Regions from separate parts of the Homo sapiens genome. Here region 2 is linked to region 1. The links are contacts of gene promoters, found by promoter capture Hi-C in human tissues and cell types (Jung and others, 2019). All regions are on one chromosome and are shown on one strand. The core of a region is centred on a gene start or on the middle of the fragment in contact, and the rest is flanking DNA. Distances in the headings are between cores, read along the strand shown. Region 1 holds the start of ROPN1B (rhophilin associated tail protein 1B). Region 2 holds the start of ALDH1L1 (aldehyde dehydrogenase 1 family member L1).

Region 1 (6,790 bases), core at 3,715-6,214:
CATCACCCCTGTAAGTGTGGGTGAGACCTGTGAATATGAGGAGATATCACCCCTGTAATTAATATTATGTGGCAAAAGAGAACTTTCAGATATAATTAAGGTCCCTAATCAGTTGACTCTGAGTTAGTCAAAAGGGTGGATCTGACCTAATCATCATCAGGTGAGCCTTAAAAAACAGACAAAAGAAACAACAACAGATGCCTCTGCTGGCCTGGAAGAAAGCAAACATCAATAAACTGCCATTCCGGGGCCATGGAACTGCGACGTGAAAGTGGCTTCTAGGAGCTGAGAGCAATCCCTGGCCAAAATCCAGGAAGAAAACAGGGACTTCAGTCCTACATCCCCAAGGAACTGAATTTTGTCAACAACCAATGAATATGGAAGAGGACCCTAAGGCTCATATGAGAGCACAGCCCTAGCCAACACTTGGGTTTTAGCTGGGCAAGACCCTTAGCGGAGGACCCAGCTAACCCACCCAGACTCCTGCCCTGTGGAAACTGAGATCAGAAATCTGTGTTGTTTTAAGCTGCTAAGTATGTGGTAATTTGCAATGCAGCAAAAGAAAACAAATGTATATGTGAAAGGAGTTTATGTACACAGGGTTGATTGGCTCCATGGGGAGTCTAACAACCACACCCCACAGTTAAATCACAGAATTGTGCTGAACCTGAGCCAAGGTCCCGAGTATGGTGTACCCATCATCACTGCTCAGCCCCAGCCTCACCATGATCCAAGCAGCAGGTGGGACAGGGTCACTCTCGTTTCCTCCTATGAAATGGCACACTTAAGATCTGGGGGAAGTGAGCCACAGTATAAGACACACAGGATAGGGAGAACTGATTTTCTGAGCTCATAGCTAGTATGAGACAGTTGATACTTAGTATAAGGCTGAGATGGTAGAGAAGACCGTCAGGATTCCCACTCTCTGGTGCCAGACCGGTCGTCACCTGGCCAAATAGAACTTTGGTCCCTAAGATACTGAACATGCAAATCTCAATGGACACTGAAGTATCATTTTTCAGAAGGGCCTCTTAGAAGAAGGAAGGAAAGGGAAGCAAGGTGGAAGGAGAGAAAAAAAGGAGAATTTAATTCAGTAAACAAATATTTATGGTGCCCATTATGTGCACAATTCTGTTCTAGGCTCCCGAAATACATCAGTGACTAAAACAAACAGAATCCCATGCACTCCAGGGAAAAAATATAGAGAAATCAATAAAACAAAAATTTAAAAATACATAGTATGTAATGATTGTAAAGCAAGGGAGGAGTTGGAAGGGATATTGGTGTTCAACTTAAAAGAGTCAGATAAGACTCCCTTAGAAGGTCACATTTGGATACAAAACTAAAGGTGCTAACGAGTGAAGCCTGTGGATACCTGAGGAAATCATGTTCCAGGCAGACAAAATGCAAGTGCACAAGTCTTGAGTCAGGAGAGGGTCTGGCCTTTCTGAGGGATAATAAGATGGCCAGCATGGCTGGAGGGAAGTGAGGAAGGAGAAAAGAGGAAATGATGGGTTCAGAGAGTTTAAGGGCCTGTGGGTTACTTTGACTTTTACTTGCATAATGTGGCAGCCACTGAGGGTTCTAAACAGAGGAATGACATGATCAGTCTTAGGTTTTCAGTAATTTGATTGGGCACCTGTGATGAGAGCAGACCATCGGAAGGGAAGGGCGGAAACAGGGAGATGGGTTAGGAAGCCATTGTAGTGGTCCGGGTGAGAGATGAGGTTTGCTTGGACCAAGGTGATGGAAGTGGAGAGAAGTGCTCCAATTCTGAATGACTTATGGAGATACAGCCAATAGCATTTGCTCTGATTGGATTTAAGGTGTGAGAGAAAAAGCAGCCAAGGATAATGCCAAGGTTTTTAGCCTGGGCAACTAGAATTTACAGTTGCTATATTTTGCTATGAGGAAGCCTGGAGGAGCTGGTTTGGAGAGGAATCTTGGAGTGCAGTTGGGGTGTATTAAGTCTGAGAAGCCTATTAGACATCCAGTGGTGCAGAGTAAACAGTTGGATGTTCTACTGTGGTGTTTAGGGAAGGATTAGGGCTGAAGACATAAATGTAATATCCAAAACATGAAACTGAATGAGATAAAAAAGAGAGTGCATGTAGATAGAGAAGTCCAAGTGTAAATCCTGGGGCACTCCAAGATTAAAGTGTCAGGGAGAGGAGGAAGAACAAGCAAAAGAACAGCCAATGAGAAAGGAGAAAAACCAAGAGTGTGATGTCCTGGAATCCAAGGAAAGAAAGTGTTTCAATCATGCGAAAGTGATCAACAGGATCAAATGCTGCTGATAGGTTGAGCCGAGGCTGAGAGATGATGTTGGATTTAACAGCATGTCACTGGGGACCTTGACACAAGTCATTTCAGTGGAGTGATGGGGATGAAAGCCTGGTTCAAGTAGATTAAAAAGAGATTTGGAAGAGAGAAATTAGCGGTGGCAGGTATGGGCAACTCTTTAAAGAACTTGGCAATAAAGGGAAGCAGAGAAATGGGTGAAAGCTGAAGAGGAAAATGATGGGAGAAATTAGAGCATGTTTGTATATTGATGGGAATTATCTAGTAGAACAAGGGAAATGATAAGAAAGGATATTCATTTGTACAAGAAAATAGCAGAAAACAATGTAACCTACTTGATAAAAGATTTTATGTAATAAAAGTTTTTATTGTAATATATAAGACAGATTTTTTTACTGAAACATAATAAACACCCATGAACCCACCATCCACCCCAAGAGCTGGACCACTACCGGTAACATCTATGTGCTCCTCCCTCTCTACTCTTACCTCTGTTTTAGAAGAAAGCAACTTTCCTGAATTGTGTTATTATCGTTTCCCTGTAAAATTATATTCTCTTGACTGTATCCTGTTATTTATTGTATCCTGTTATTTATTGACTGATAGATCAAGGATAATCTAACCTACGCCTCTCAACCTGGCCTCCTACAGACAGACATCAAATCACCTCAGTCAGACAGTGCTATGAAATTCCTCCCTTGTGTTTAACCTGCTACTCTAAAATTCTATTTTATTTCATCTTCCATCTCCAGCTGTTAGTGCTTTGTCTGAAAAACCTGTTCTTCTGCACAAAGATCATTATTATTCATTCCTGTCAGTATTATTTACTCAGCATGAAAGCAGGAAGAGATTGGCACACCTTCATCTCATGTGCATACAACAGAACAGACTCCAGTGGCCAGAGCATTCTTGTTATCCTGGAAGATGCACCTGCAGCCCTCAAGCCTCCAGCCTCCCCCTCCCAACCTAAGGCACACTCTGTTGGTCAGGTGCCTGTACCAACACCTGGTAGCCCCTCCACAGAGGCCTCAGAAAGATAGGTGATAGCTAGTGACTAGGTTTCTTTCATCCCCAGATCTTGCCCTGTGGGCAGTGGCCGTCCCCAGACCATCCAGGATTCTCCAGGTGTGCAAGGACCTGCAGGATTTTGACAAATGCCAGCAGAGTGGCCTCTTTACAAATGGATGACAACAGGCTGTGAAAAGCTTTCTGCATGCATAAGCCAAAAATCTAGTTCCCCCACTTGTTCACTGATGCTTAAAATTGCTTTAGGGAGAGACAAAGGCTTTCATCTCACAACCAGAGAAAGCTCTGAAGACCCTGGGTGAATTAATTGATTTAGACTAATACACACTGTAGTATAAATGGACTGAAGGATTACATGATGCAATGAGCAGCTTTCATATGGGTGTGAAGTGACACGGGGTGTAGCAGAGAAAGATGGGGCTTTTCTTGCCTCTTTGGGTGCTTAAAAAGAACAGTCTTGAGGCCAGGTGCGGTGGCTCACACCTGTAATCCCAGTGCTTTGGGTGACCAAGGGGGGGTGGATCACTTGAGCCCAGGGGTTCAAGACCAGCCTGGGCAACACGGCAAAACCCTGTTTATAAAAATATAAAAATTAGCCTGGTGTGGTGGCACACACCTGTAGTCTCAGCTACTTGGGAGGCTGAGGTGGGAGGATTGCTTAGACCTAGGAGATTGAGGCTGCAGTGAGTCATGATTACCCCATTGCATTCCAACCTGGGCAACAGAGTGAGACTCTGTCTCAAAACAAAGCAAAGCAAAACAAAACAAAACAAAAACAACAGTCTTGAAATCAGAAGACCTGGAGACAAGTTGGGCCCTGGGCCCTACTGCCAGCTGTTTGATCACAGGCAAAATTACTCGAAGCCTTGAGCCTGTTTTCTAAAACGAAGGTAATATCTACCTTCAGAGTTTACTGTGAAACTTTGATGTCATCATGTTTGTAAAAGTGCCCTGGCACAGTGACCACATTCTACCCTATAAATATTTTCTATCTTTCCCTGTTGTCCCCAGGCATCTCAGGCTCTGTTCCTATCCACTCCATGCCCCTTTCTTAGCATTATAAGGTCAAGAGTGAGGAATCTGGGACCACGCAACCCAGATTCAGATCCTGACTCTGTCACTTGCTGACTGTCATCTTGGACAAGTTTAACCTCTCTGTGCTCAGTTCCCTCATCTGTAAAAATGGGGATAACAATAGTACTTGCCTCATGGGGTGACAGTAAGGATGAAATGAGTTCATGTGTGTAATGCACTTAGAACAATTCCTGGCACCAAAAACGCATTGTAAGAGGTGTTGTTGCTATGATTCCTGAGGAATTCTCACCTGTCCACTTTCCACAAGCCGAAAGATCAAGCTCCACTTCTGCCCTCTCACCTACAAAAGCGCACCGTCAATGGCTACACATTCCGCCCCACCCCCAACGCCCCCAGCCCGGGTTTCCTAACGTCCCCAGCCCAGTCCTTAACCCTCCAGGCCGTCTGGTCCTTCCACCACCAGCAAAGCCCAAAACAGCTTTCAGCGTCCCCTAGCAGCGCCCTAGCGGGACCCTGGGAACCCGCCGCTGCAGGAGAGGCGGGGCGGCTCTGTGACGTCGCGCCCGGCGCTACCCCTGGTGACCTGGCAGCGGAGCCCGCGCAGGGTTTGCCAGGCGAAGGCGGAGCGCTAACGTCTAACGCTAACGGCGGTCGTGCCCCGCCGCTGCTGTCACCCCCGGCCGCTGCTGCCCTCCCCGCCGAGGTTCTACTGCTCTCCTTCTTAAGAAGGGTGGGAGGCACTCGGTCTCTCCCCACACCTCTCGCCTGAGGCCAGGCGCCAGGTGTCGCCTGAAGCCAGACAGCCGGTTTGGGAGCGAGCCTGAGGTAGCCACCCCGAGGGGAAGTGGAGGGAGGGCAGGGCTCTGAGCGCCCCGAGGGCTGCGCTGGTCTGAGGGAGGAGCCCTGCCGGACGCCCCCTGGATTCTGAGCCTCTCCTTGTTCACAGGGCAAGGGGAGGGCAAGGGGAAGGCAAGGGGATCTTCAAGAGAATGTGACTGTGGGGGATTATGGCTTTCTGGCCAATTTGTGTGCGTATTTTGTACCCAGAATACTATTATACGGTTTCTTACCCGGAGGACAGTGGTTGGGAGGCTCAAGAGTTTGGAATCAGAGCCCTCCACCGAGGAGCCACACCTCTGCTTTTTCATCAGCGACAGGGATATAAAAATACCTCTGGGTGAATTGTCATGTGGACCAATGGGCATACCTAGCACTTCATAGACTCCTATCACACATTATTTTATACCTAGCACTTCATAGACTCCTGTCAGGCATTATTTTATACCTGGCACTTCATAGACTCCTATCACATATTATTTTATACCTAGCACTTCATAGACTCCTATCACGCATTATTTTATACCTAGCACTTCATAGACTCCTATCACGTGTTCATTTTATAGCTAGCACTTCATAGACTGCTATCACGCATTCATTTTTACTAGTACCTATTGAACACTAAGTTCCAGGCACTGGGCTAGGCACTGGGATGGTGTGGTGAGCAAAAACTGACCAGTCCTGCCGTGGAGTTTGCTGGGGGAGACACATGTTACTCAAAGAATCACACTAAGGATAGGTAAGTGATGCTCTGGAAGGGTATGTACAATGGAACTGACAGGGTAATCAGGGAAGGTTAAGCAGACCTCCAAAGGAAGAATCAACCTGTTAAGAGGAGGAGAATGCATTCCAAACAAGAGTAACCACATCCCAAACCCACCACCTCCAATTCCGAACCCAAACAGGGATGTGCAGTTGTCTGTGCTTGGTTCCAAGCCGCTCATAGAAACCCTCTGAGATTCTGCCCTGGAGCCTTTCATTCATGTAATGGAGACTTTCATTTATGAAATGGAAGCCCTGTTTAGCCCATACCAATAAAAACAAGTGAGAAATCCCTGAAACAAGACTATACAGTCTATTTTAAGACCTACATTCTTCAGCACTTGGCAGGTATACGTTGGGCTGCCATTTCACATTGGGAGGCATGTTTTGTTTGCTTTTTTGTGTTTTTTAAAAATTCCTTTCTTCCCCCCTCTCCGAGAAACACCCAAGAATGATCAATAAATACTAAAAAAATTTTAAAAAATCCTTTTTTCCTCTGTACAGATTTAGTGGTTATTACTGTTAAAACTTTTCTAATACTTTGCAAAGTCTAAAATTAATCATTATTTTATCATCCTTTTCCTCCAAATAAAAGAACATAAATAAAGTAAAAGGTCATGAAGTCCCACCAATCTAAGACCACTTTAGTTTCTTGTCTTGGGATTTCCGAGCCATGCTGGTGTTGGTATAAATGGAAAACTTAGAACTAGTCTGTGGCTACCAACTCCTGGGGGACTGTTTCTCTCCTGACTAGAAGCAGCAATGGAGACAGGTTTCTTTGTTGCTTACCCCAGCCTGTAGGCAGATATTTTCAGCCACACCTTTTCAC
Region 2 (6,970 bases), core at 3,834-6,333, 210 kb after region 1:
ATAAATGGGAACTTAACTTGATAAAGAAGATCTATGAAAAACCTACAGCTAACATCATACTTAATGGAGAGAAACTAGAAGCTTTTCCCCTAAGATCAGAAATAAGGCAAGGATGTTCCCTTTCACCCTTCCTAGTCAACATTATACTGGAAGTGCTGGCTAATGTAATTAGAAAAGAAAAGAAAATGAAAAGTCTACAGATTGGGAAGGAAGAAATAAACTGTTCTTGTTCTCAAAAAACATAATTGGCTATGTGGAAAATGCCAACAAAGCAACAGAAAACTGGAAATAATAAGTTATTCTGCCAAAGTTGCTGGATGTAAAGTCATGGTTAATATACAAAAATTGATTACTTTCTTATATACTAGCAATAAACAATTGAAATTTGAGATTAAAAACACAAAACCATTTACATTAGCACCAAAAAGTGAATTATTTATACATAAACCTAAAATAGGTCAAAATCTATGTGAGAATAACCATAACTGATGAAAACATAAAAATATGTATAAATAAATGAAGAGATAGTACATGTTCATGGGTAGGGAAACTCTATACTGTCCAGATGTCAGTTCTTTCCGACTTTATCTATAGATTCAATGCAATCCCAATCAAAACCCCAGCAGTTATTTGTGGATATCAACAAACTGATTCTCAAGTTTATTTGGAGAGACAAAAGACCTGGGATAGTCAACACAATATTGAAGGAGAACGAAGTTAGAGGACCGATACTGCCTGTCCCCAAGACTTTACTATAAAGCTACAGTAATCAAGACAGTACGGTATTGGCAAAAGAATAGTCAGATAGATCAATTGAACAGAATAGAGAGCCCAGAAGTAAACTCACATCAATACAGTCAACTGAACTTTGACAAAGAGACAAAGGCAAGACAATGGAGAAAATCTGCATTGCACAAAAATCACACAAATATCTGTACACTGATGTTTACAGCATCTTTATTTGTAACTGCCAAAACTTGGATTTGACTTTTTAGATACAACAACAACAGCACAATTCATGGAGGAAAAAAAATGGTACATTAGACCTTATTAAAATTTAAAACTTCTGCTCTGCAAAAGACACTGTTAAGAGAATGAAAAGACAAGCCATGGTTGGGGAGAGAAGACATATCTGGTAAAGCACTGTTATCCAAAATATACAAAGAACTATTAAAACTCAACAGTAAAACAAACAACCCAATTTTAAAATGGGCCAAGTAAATTAACCGACATTCACAAAAGAAGATATACAGATGGCAGAGAAGCATTTAAAAAGATGCTCAACACTGTAAGTCATTACAGATTGCAAATTAAAATATAACAATGAGATACTACTATATGCGTATTAGAAGAGTTAAATTAAGAGCACTGACAACAAATGCTGATGAGGCTGTGGAGCAACAGGAACTCTTATTTATTACTGGTAGAAATGAAAAATTATGCCACCACTATGGAAAAAGGTTTGGTAGTTTTTTATAACACGAAACATACTTTTACCATGTGATCCATCAATCGCTCTTGATATTTACTCAAAGGAGAAGAAAACTAATGTCCACACAAAAACCTGCACACAAATGTTGATAGCAGCTTTATTCACTGCTAAAACTTGGAAGCAACCAAGATATCCTGTAGTATGTGAATGGAGAAATAAACTGTGGTACCTCCACATCCATACAACAGAATATTAGTCAATGATAAAAAGAAATGGGTTACCAAGTCACAGAAAGACATGGAGGATGCTTAAATGCATTTTGCTAAGCGAAAGAAGCCAGTCTGGAAAGGCTATATACCATATGATTCATACATACTATATGACATTCTGGAAAAGGCAAAACTACAAAGGCAGTAACCAGTGGTTGCCAGGGATAGGTAGGGGGGTTGGGGGGTGGATGGGTAGAGCACAGGAGAGTTTTAGGGCAGTGAAACTATTCTCTATGATACTGTAACACTGGATACTCATCATTATATGTTTGTCCAAAACCATAGAAGGTACAACACCAAGAGGGAATTCTAATGTAAATTATGGACTTTCATTAATAACATTGCATCGATATTGGCTCACCAAGTATAACAAAATTGGCCAGGCCTGGTGGCTCACACCTGTAATCCCAGCACTTTGGGAGGCCAAGGCGGGCTGATCACTTGAGGCCAGGAGTTCAAAAGCAGCCTGGCTAACATGGTAAAACCCTGTCTCTACTATTATAAAAATACAATAATTAGCTGGGCATGGTGGTGCACCTGTAATCCCAGCTACTCGAGAGGCTGAGGCCCAAGAATTGCTTGAACCTGGGAGGCAGAAACTGTAGTGAGCTGAGATTGTGCCACTGCACTCCAGCCTAGGCAACAGAGCAAGACTGTTTCAAAAAGAAAAAAGCTGTAACAAAAATATCCTATCAATGCATGATGTTAAAAATAGGGGAGGCCAGGCCTAGTGGTTCATGCCTGTAATCCCAGCACTTTGGGAGGCCAAGGCAGAGGATCACTTGAGCCCTTGAGTTCAAGGCCAGCTTGGGCAACAAAGTGAGACCCATCTCTACAAAAAAATTTTTAAATTAGCCAGGCGTGGTTGTGCATGCCTGTAGTCCCAGCTACTTGGGAGGCTGAGGCATGAGAATCACTTGAGCCCAGGAGTTCAAAGCTGCAGTAAGCTGTGTTTGTGCCACTGCACTCCAGCCTGGGCAACAAAGTGAGACCCTGTCTCAAAAAAAAAAAAAAAGAAAAAAAAAAAAAGAAAGGAAAAGAATAGAAAGAAAAATAGGAGAAAGCGCGCAGGAAGGGACAGACTGAGAATATGGGAACTCTGCACTCCGTCCTCAATTCTTCTGTAAACCTAAAACTGCTCTAAAAATGTCTACTAATTGAAATAAATAAATGAATCTAGCTCTATAGTTCACATCTTACTCTAAAATACAGTCCAATTGGGTTAAAAATAAATACTTGAAAATCAAATATAAGAAGAAAACATTAAATTATTAGAAAATATTGGTAAATATTGAGTTATACAAACCTGACACTGTCAAAACACCCAACAAGTAACAAACCACGATAATTGTGTAAGGCTTAAGTTTGTGTGTGTGTGTGTGTGTGTCTGTGTGTGCATGCGTGTGTTTATCTGCAGGGTAAAAGCCTAGAAGAATTTACACTGAAATGTTGAAAGTTACTGGGTAAAGGGTTTTGGGTTTCAGAGGTTTTTGACGACTGTAATTATTTTGTTTTCTTAACTGAATGTTCTTTTTTTATATTGTACATGATTACTTCTGAAAAAAAAAAATAAAAGAGTATGTCGTTCCCCCCCTGCAGGGAGGCAGAGTCCAGGTGGCCACCAAGGGGCTGTTGTCACAGTCCAGGGAAAGCCAGAATGGCAGGCACGGGAGCCTTGGGAGGGGCCTCAATCAGGCTTGCCCTTTGGCCCCAGAAAGAGCAGGGGCCTGCAGTGAAGCCCATAGAGCCCCTTGTGGGCCGTATGGGCCGCCTCCAGGCCTCCACCTCCTCCCCCAGTCATGGCCGCTCAGTGTCCTTTCACTTGGTGGTGTGGGGACACTGGGAGGCTTCCTGGGCCTCCCAACCCTCCTACCCAATTCCCAGCCCAGGCTTGGCTCTCCAGGACCCAGCTTCTAGTCCCTGTGAGGCTGGGCCACCCTGCAGGACTGCAGCTCTGGGCCCTCTGTTCTGGTGCTAGGGCCCTGGGGCCCATGAATGCAGTTCTAGCACTCGGGAGGCTGAGGCGGGAGAATCACTTGAACCCGGGAGGCGGAGGTTGCAGTGAGCCGAGATCGTGCCACTGCACTCCAGCCTGGGCGACAGAGCGAGACTCTGTCTCAAACAAACAAACAAACAAACAGCAGCCAACATTCTCCGAGGGTTTCCTAGGGCCAGGCGCGGGGCAGTCTCATGTAATTCTCAAGCAATCTTGGGAGGCAGGCACTACTGTTCATTGCCCCTCCCGATTTTAGAGACAAGAAACTAAGATTCAGAACACAAGAAACTTGCCCAAGGTCAAGGAGAAGTGGAGGCGTGGGGAGGAAACAAAGTCACCTGACACCAGAGCCCATGCCTCCAAACTCCAAGTCTGGGACTCCTGATTAAATTCCGTCTCTGTCTGCACTTTGGGAAGATTCTTTCCTCTCCTAGGCAAGTGCCCGCGGGGCCTGAGCTCTCGATAGCGGGGCCCCAGGAGCCACGTTGTGGGGTCTGCTATCCGGCCTCCCTCTGCACGCGCGACCGTCCACTTGAGCGCAGTGGCTGGAGCTGGGACTCCAGCGCAGCCCCTGAGCGCTCACGTCGACCCCTCCAATCACAAGAGGCCCTCGTGCCAGGCCCCCAGATTTGGCCAATCAGGGAAGACCTTTCCCTGTCACAGAATGGGGTCGAGGGGCCCAGGAAACAGGTAGTCCCCAGTCACAAATCATCGCGTCGCCTTCGCTGGTCCCTTTCTCTTATCGAGCCTCAGTTTTCTCTTCCATAAGCCGGGCCAGCAGTGCCCACCCCACAGGTTGGCGCCAGCTCCGTAAGGGCCCTACCACCGCGGCCGGCCAGATCCTCGGCGGGCCAGTCCTGGCGCTGCGGTCATTTAGCCTGATGACCCCTGGCCAGGTTCAGCCTCAATTGCTCCAAAGAACTCCGGACCCGTACCCCGAGCCCGGCGTCCCAGCGGCGAAGTTGATGGGCCCCGCAGGAGCCCTTGCGGTGAGAACCGAGTCCTGGAGCCCCTGGAGCCCCCGGAGCCCCCGGAGCTGCAGCCGGGGCAGCCTCCTTTCCGCCGGGAGTCCAGCGCTCTCGAGAGCCCAGAAACTCACCGCGCGCAGGAGTTGGTGCGGGCGTCCCGGGCAGGTTAGACTTCTGTGAGCCGCAGCCCCGAAACTGAGGTTGGTGCAGACCCGTCCTGGGAGCCAGGAGGTGGGACCTGTCCCCGCCAGTCCGCGAGCTCTGGTTAAGGCCAGAGCCCGTGAGGGGAGGGGCGCGGGGCGGGCGGAGAGTCAGCCGAGTGGGGGCGGCGCTCACCGGTGGTGGGACTATGGCGGGAGCGCAGCGCACCCTCTCCGGGCGGGTCTATAAATGCCATGTAAAAGCCAACCCCGCAGGGGCCTGCGCTCTTTCCCGCTTAGGTCAAGAAGACTTACTGTGGACCCTTGGAGAATTCCCAGGGCTTTGAAAAGTCCCAAGCACCCAGCAGGGCTGGCAGTTCTGAGCGCTGGCAAGGCTAAGTGGGTCAGAGGAGACCCTCGCCAAGCCGGTGACTCACTCACTCGCTCACCCTCTCTCACTCTTGATGGGCCAAGTACCTGCCATGTGCTACGGACACAGCAGAGCGAAAGGAGACGCTGCCCTCCGGGAATTTGCAGCCGCTTGCAGAGGCGGCCCCTTAGCAGCTGCGCATCCGGGTGGATAGCGGCGCTTCTGCCCGCCCAGTGCCTACCCGCCTCTCCGAGAGAAAAACAGCCCCTGGTTTTCTCTCTGCAATTCCCCTTCTCCACTCTCTCCCTTCTACTCAGTCCTGGTGCCGCAGACCCCTCCTCCTGGTTCCCAGAGATCCTGGCCAGCCCGGTCTCAGGCAAGGCCATGTAGAATGCCGGGAGTGATAATTGCGTATTGTTTCATGACTGCAAGCCTGTGTCCAGGTGGCTCCTTCTCCTGGAACACCCTTCCCACCACACCTGCGGCCGCACTGCTCCGTGCCCTGCTAAGCCTCACTTCTTTTGAGGCGACCCTCTCGCTAAGTCCCGACCACCTGGCCCTCTCTCTGCTCAGTGCCTGAACACATCAGGCTTGCTGCAGCCCCTGCCTTTACCTCTCTACTTGTAGTGTTCTTTCAGAGCCTGCTCCCATATGGTATCACATATCAGATATCTGATGCAGAGCCTTAGAGAGGCTGTTCCAGGTCACACAAACTAAGGAAGTCCCTCAGCCACTCCCTGCCACATCACCCTGTTCTATTTCCTTCACAGCACTTAACTGTATATCTGATATTTCCTTGTTTCTTTGTTTGTTCATTGTCTGTCTCTCCCACTAGACTGTAAGCTCTTTGAGGACAGGAAATTTGTGAGATGTATTCACTGTTGTATCCCCAATACACAGTGATGGCTTGTAGCAGTTGCTAAATAAATGTTTGTTGAATGGCTTAATGCATGTATTTTGCTCACATAAGCCAGTATGGGCACCCAGGATTGAGGTGGCCTGTGCCTGCTGATCCACTTAGCCTACTTTCAGGCACTGTCCCCTTGTTCTTTAGGCTCCAGCCTGCAGGTCTCCCTGCTGTCCCTCATATCTGTGGAACTTCTCGACTCATAAAGTTTCCATGTGCCGTTCATCTTTGTCCAGAGAACCCCCATCATTCTTCAGGAAGTTCCTACTAAAATGCCATGACTTCAGGGAAGCTTTCCCTAGCCTCAGCCTTACTAGGACAGATTCCTCCATTATGTGATCACAGAGAGGCCTGTAATTTTTCTTCATGAACCTCTCTCAACTTTATTTATTTATTTTTTTTTGAGGTAGAGTCTCACTCTGTCACCCAGGCTAGAGTCCAATGGTGCAATCTCAGCTCAATGGACCCTCCACCTCCTAGGTTCAAGCGATTCTCCTGCCTTAGCCTCCTGAGTAGCTGGGATTACAGGCATGCGCCACCACACCCAGCTAATTTTTGTATTTTTAGTAGACGTTTCACCGGGGTTTCACCATGTTGGCCAGGCTGGTCTCAAACTCCTGACGTCAGATGATCCACCTACCTCAGCCTCCCAAAGTGCTGAGATTACAGGCATGAGCCACTGCACCCTGCCTTCAACTGCAATTTTATCACTGCTTCTGGGATTGCTTGATTAACATGTCTCTGGACAATGATGGCGAAGACTAGCTTATTCTCCTGGGAAGTCCCCAGGGCTGAATGCATGCCCTGTGTGTGGAAGGTGTGCCATATAATCTGTAGGAAAACTGGCTGAGTGTTAGGGGCCTGCAATGGGAAAGTGGTGTGTTCTGA

The links. Contacts are between HindIII fragments. The study calls those that stand out against the background at their distance.
Region 2: a contact is called between a fragment that was not itself captured here and the fragment with the promoter of ROPN1B in region 1, in 1 of the 25 tissues and cell types used here (thymus).

Annotation. Positions count from the first base shown.
Region 1 is chr3:125,964,214-125,971,003 of GRCh38, forward strand. It overlaps ROPN1B (rhophilin associated tail protein 1B), which reads left to right and starts at 4,965. Exons shown (of 7, transcript NM_001308313.2): 1 at 4,965-5,187. It also overlaps the pseudogene ALG1L1P. The HindIII fragment of the contact is 7,959 bases long and covers 1,066-6,790 here.
Region 2 is chr3:126,175,680-126,182,649 of GRCh38, forward strand. ALDH1L1 (aldehyde dehydrogenase 1 family member L1) reads right to left here and starts at 4,907. Exons shown (of 23, transcript NM_012190.4): 1 at 4,797-4,907. ALDH1L1-AS2 (ALDH1L1 antisense RNA 2) reads left to right here and starts at 4,386. Exons shown (of 2, transcript NR_046383.1): 1 at 4,386-4,865. RefSeq lists enhancers at 4,567-5,322, 5,323-6,076. The HindIII fragment of the contact is 3,712 bases long and covers 3,228-6,939 here.